2 separate regions of the Homo sapiens genome follow, and region 2 is linked to region 1. Evidence: promoter capture Hi-C in human tissues and cell types (Jung and others, 2019). All regions are on one chromosome and are shown on one strand. Each heading gives the region's core, a stretch centred on a gene start or on the middle of the fragment in contact. The rest is flanking DNA. Distances are from core to core; before and after follow the strand shown.

The links. The method cuts DNA at HindIII sites, captures the fragments that hold promoters and counts their contacts. A contact is called where the count stands out against the background at its distance.
Region 2: the fragment with the promoter of MAPRE1 here is called in contact with a fragment that was not itself captured in region 1 in 1 of the 25 tissues and cell types used here (lymphoblastoid cells).

The regions. Positions count from the first base shown.
Region 1 is chr20:32,493,990-32,496,716 of GRCh38, forward strand. The region is part of intron 4 of NOL4L (nucleolar protein 4 like); the gene reads right to left. Among named protein-coding and RNA genes, the nearest start is that of NOL4L-AS1, 66 kb to the right of the region's middle. The HindIII fragment of the contact is 4,356 bases long and covers 1-2,727 here.
Region 2 is chr20:32,818,573-32,821,299 of GRCh38, forward strand. MAPRE1 (microtubule associated protein RP/EB family member 1) reads left to right here and starts at 1,382. Exons shown (of 7, transcript NM_012325.3): 1 at 1,382-1,456. RefSeq lists a silencer at 1,099-1,688 and enhancers at 1,761-2,430, 2,431-2,727. The HindIII fragment of the contact is 10,810 bases long and covers 1-2,727 here.

The DNA.
Region 1 (2,727 bases), core at 85-2,584:
TGCCTATAATCCCAGCACTTTGGGAGGCCAAGGCAGGTGGATCACCTGAGGTCAGGAGTTCAAGACCAGTCTGACCAACATGGTGAAACCTGGTCTCTACTAAAAATACAAAAATTAGCTGGGTGTGGTGGCACATGCCTGTAATCCTAGCTACTTGGGAGGCTGAGACAGGAGAATCATTTGAACCCAGGAGGTGGAGCTTGCAGTGAGCTGAGATCATGCCACTGCACTCCAGCCTGGGCCACAGAGTGAGATAATCTCGGGAAAAAAAAAAAAAAAAAAAAAAAAAAAAACACACAACACACACACACACACAAACAAATTACTTAAGCTCTCTAAAGCCGAGCCTCAGTTTCCCTGTGTGCTGAGGAACTGAGTTCTGTGTCTGGGGGTACCCAGCACACAGAAGGCCCCCAACAATTGCTGTTCCTGCTCCCCTGCCTACCTCCCTCTCCTCTCTTCTTCCTCCCCACTTTCCCCGTTTCCTTTCTTTTCCATTCTTTTTCTCTGCCCAAGCCTTCGGCATCTTAACACCCAAAGTGATTGTCAAAGTTTAGTTGATGGTGCCCAGGCTGTGGCAGAGACTGTGAACCAGTTTTCTTGATATTATGCCCTGAATCAACATTCTCCCTTATCTTTTTCAACCACAGAGGGTAGAAACATGAAATTCTTTCTTTCCCAGCCTCCCTTACAACTGGGAACCACGTGACCCTTTTGCAGCAATGAGACATCAACACAATGCCTCGAATGTGGACAAGGTTGGAGCAATAGCAGGCAACTTGCAACCATGAGGAAAAGCCTCAATAACATCACAGAGACACCAACCCAACATTGCAAATGGCACCAGCGGCGGCTCCTCCATTCTTCTTGTTTTAGGAGTAAAATAACTTCATGTTTTGCTATAGTCAACTGGGTTTGGGGGCCTGTAGTCAAAAGCATTCCTGGCTTATTCACATGGCTCCTGTCCGCGGGTGGACTAGATGGCAAGGATCCCCCACTCCCATGTGGCCTTTTCTCTTTCAAGAGGACACAGGAGCCTCTTGACTCTTTGAAGAGGACACAGGGGTGCTACGCTACGTCCAGGCACCTGCTGTGCGTACTGTGGTGCCTGGGGAGCAGACAAGCATTTAGTTCCCTCACTTGTGGACTCTGAAGGAGGGAAAACTGTCACGGCTGCAGCACAAGTGTGCCTGGGCACTTCCTCAGCCACAGGAGTATCCCAGTTAAAGAACATCTTCTGTTTCTATCTTATCTCTTGAGGTATTTAGAGCCATTCTAAATGCCAGAGCCTTAGAATGACCATGGGGCTGGCAGGGCATGGGCTCTGTGACTCATATCTGTCGAGGAGGCTGCTTGTGGTTGTGCTGGATCGAGCCCCTCTCCTTGACTATCTTCGGCACCGCAAGCCAAAGCTCAGGGCTGCCCGGGCCTATTCCTGAGGTGGTGCAGGAGAGGCAGATGGGCTGCTGGGGACGAAAGGGGTAGGTAGGCGGGCTCTGGGCTCCGTGCCCAGCATTGCCAGCAACATGCCTGTCTGCTGCTGACCCCTGACCCACTCAACTTCCTCCCCAGAAGACAGTCCCTTGAAGAAAGGGGTTCCTCCATCAAAATGTAAAATTTGAAAGCCACAGATGTCTGACCCAAACCTGCTGATCTAGTAACAGGGAAGCTGCAGCATGAAGAAGTTAGATGGCTGGGGCGCAGTGGCTCACGTCCCAGCACTTTGGGGAGGCTGAGGTGGGGGAATGCTTAAGCCCAGGAGTTCAAGACCAGCCTGGGCAACATGGCGAGACCCCATCCCTACAAAAAATACAAACATTAGCTGGGCGCGGTGTTGAGCACCTGTGGTCCCAGCTACTCAGGAGGCTGAGGTGGGAGAATTGCTTGAGCTCAGGAGGTCAAGGCTGCAGTGAGCTGTGATCATATCACTGCACCCCAATAAAAGAAGTTAGATGACTCGTGGGGCAGAGGCACACCTAGAACCAGAGTCGCTGGACTCCCTCTCAGGTGCTCATCTCCACTTTCGACCTGAGACAGGCCCAGGTCCCTGCCCTGCTTCCCTCTGGCAGAGAAAGATCACCACTAGGCTTCACATCACAACACATGTGCACCCGGCTGGCAGGCCCTGGGAGAGCTGCCTTTGAAGACGGCTCCCAGGCATAGCTCCCCCTTACTCCTCTATCTGAGCCCCACTGCTGTTCCTACCCCAGGGTCTTTGCATGTGCTGTCTCCTGTGCCTGGAAAGCCCTCCCACTTCATCTCTGCAGGGCTGGCCACTTCTCACCATTCAGGCCTTGGCTCGGATGCTGCCTCTTCAGAGAGGCCTTCTTGCCCTGAGGCACAGTCTGTCATCTTACTCTATTTTAATTATCTACCCCAAATTTCCTCCTTTTGCATATTTTTTTATATTGCCTTGTTTATCATCTCCAGGCCTGTGAGCTCCTAGGGATGGGTACCTTATCTGTCTCATTCACTGTGGTATCTTCCGTGCTTGGAATGACCTCCAGCATGTAGTAGGAACCTCGGAAATGATTTTTGAGTGAAGGAAGGAAGAAATTTCTTTCTTTCTTTTTTTTTTTTGAGAGAGTTTCACTCTTGTTGCCCAAGCTGGAGTACAGTGGCATGATCTCAGCTCACTGCAACCTCTGCCTCCCAGGTTCAAGTGATTCTTCTGCCTCAGCCTCCCGAGTAGCTGGAACTACAGGTGCCTGCCACCACAGCTGGCTA
Region 2 (2,727 bases), core at 132-2,631, 320 kb after region 1:
TCTCCTGCCTCAGCCTCCCAAGTAGCTGGGATTACAGGCGCCCACCACCATGCCCGGCTAAGTTTTGCATTTTTAGTAGAGATGGGGTTTCGCCATGTTGGACAGGCTGGTTTCCAACTCCTGACCTCAGGTAATTCATCCGCCTTGGCCTCCCAAAGTGTTGGGATTACAGGTGTGAGCCACCACGCCCAGCCCAGTTCCTCCTTCAGCCAAGGCTCTCTTGAGAATGTAAGGGCCAGGTGTGGTGGCTCACGCCTGTAATCCCAGCACTTTGGGAGGCCGATGCGGGTGGATCTCTCGAGCCCAGGAGACCAGCCCAGCCTGGGCAACATGGCAAGACCCCATCTCTTAAAAAAAAAAAAAAAAAAAAGAGGGAGTGGGCAAGAGAGAATGTATGTACAGCCATTGGGAAACAACCCGGAACAGGACTCAGGAGGTCCTTGCTCCTGTGGACTTTACAGGAGACAGACAGTAAAGGCACAAGATGCCTTCTTATGGTACTAAGAAGAAAATATGCCGCATGATATTGCAGATGGGGGGGCGGGGGCGTCACAGAACGTGACTTTTTTTTTTTTTTTTTGAGACAGAGTCTTGCTCTGTCGCCCAGACTGGAGTGCAGTGGTGCAGTCTCGCCTCACTGCCACCTCCGTCTCCTGGGTTCAAGTGATTCTCCTGCCTCAGCTTCCCAAGTAGCTGGAATTACAGGCGCCCACCACCACGCCAGGCTAATTTTTGTATTTTTAGTAGAGATGGGGTTTCACTATGTTGGCCAGGCTGGTCTCAAACTCCTGACCTCAGGTGATCCTCCCACCTGGGCCTCCCAAAGTGCTGGGATTAAAGGCGTGAGCCACTGCACCCGGCCCAGAAAGTTGACTTCTAAGCGTTTCCCCAAAGTGTCTATTAGGTATCTTTATGATTCAATAACCCATTCTTACAGAAATTAATTGTAAGCCTGGGAGCGGTGGCTCACGCCTGTTATCCCAGCGCTTTGGGAGGCTAAGGCGGGAGGATCGCTTGAGGCCAAGAGTTCGAGACCACCCTGGGCAACACAGCGAGACCTCCATACATCTCTAAGCAAAAAAAAAAAAAAATTCATTGTAAAAGCAATTTTCTTTTTGGTTACTGCCATAGGGATTTTGTAACTGAGTCACACCGGGCCGAGGCGGGACCTCATTGGCTGCGACCGACCACGTGCCGCAGTCGCCCCGGCGGTCGGGGCCCCGCCCCTCGGCTACCGTTCTGTGGATCAGGGGCCGAGCTCCGCCCCCGGCGCGCGGCTGAGACCCTCTCTATAAAAGGAGCCGGCGGAGGATGGCGAGCCTTTACGTCGGCGCGTAACGAGGGGGTGCGTGTGAGGTCATCGCGCGGGCGGGCGGGCGGGGTCTGGCGGTTTGAACGAGACGAAGACGGAACCGGAGCCGGTTGCGGGCAGTGGACGCGGTTCTGCCGAGAGCCGGTGAGCCGGCTAGCGGGCCCGGGGGGTGCGGCTGGGGGGGCGGCCGCGTGGGCCAAGGCCGGGCGTGCGCGGGCAGGCCCTACGGGCAGCGCCAGGGCCGTTCCACACGGCGGTGCTGTTCGAGCCGGGTGGGGGAAGGGCGGGGCCGTCACCCGGCGCGCGCGGGCTGGGCCTGGGGGCGCGCGCTGCGCTCTGCTCAGGGGGCGGGGTCTCGGGCCGGAAGTGGGCTGCTGCTACGCGGGGTGGGGGTTTCTGGGCCGCCGCTGAGGTGTGGTCCCTGCGCTGCAGCGACTGGAGGTCCCAGGGTGGTTGGGCCCTGGGAGGGTGTGGGCGAGGTGGGCCGTCCTGGGAGCTCTGGGGACGCACATTGTGGGAGGCCGTGTTGCCTGAGGGCCGAGAGATCGGGTGGTGGAGTCAGACCTGGGTTGGGTTCCGTGCGGTGTGACCTTGGACAGGTGCTTTAACCGCTGTGGATCTCAGCTTCCTCATCTGTAAAACGGGGACAGTAATACTACCCACATTAAACTCTTAGCGCGATGTATGGCAGAAAGTAAGCCAGCTCTTGGACTCCCTCCTTTCTTCAGTGTGTGTTTATTGAATGCCCACTAGGTGTTGGGCACCGTGCTAAACCCTGGCTGTTTTCCCGGGAACAAAGATTTGCTCTCCAGGAATCCACATTATGATGAGCAGGAGGACAGTATAACGGGATGGTATCAACAGTGCTAGTTCAGTCCCTACTTCACAGTTGCCCTCGGATGCTGCAGGGCAGAGCTTGACCTCTGCCCCATTTTGGGGATGAGGATCCTGGGGCCCATTGAGGGAGGTTATGCTAGGCCGGGCATCCGCTTCTCCGATGGCATGTCTCTAACAGTAGTAATGATAATAGCAGCTCTTTGTTAGTTGGGCACTTGTTTTGTGTCAAGCACTGTTAAGTGCTCCATGTGGCTTTGTGTCTTTTAATACTAACACTGTCTTTAAGAGAGATTCTCTTCTTCCTTTTTTTTTTTTTTTTGAGACAGAGTTTTATTCTGTTGCCCAGGCGTGCAGTGGCACCATCGCTCACTGCAACCTCCGCCTCCCGGGTTCAAGCGATTCTCGTGCCTCAGCCTCCCGAGTAGTCGGGATTACAGGCGCGCGCCACCAAGCCCGGCTAATTGTTGTATTTTTTAGTAGAGACGAGGTTTCGCCATGTTGGCCAGGCTGTTGTCGAACTCCTGACCTCAAGTGATCTGTCCGCCTCGGCCTCCAAAGTGTTGGGATTACAGGTGTGA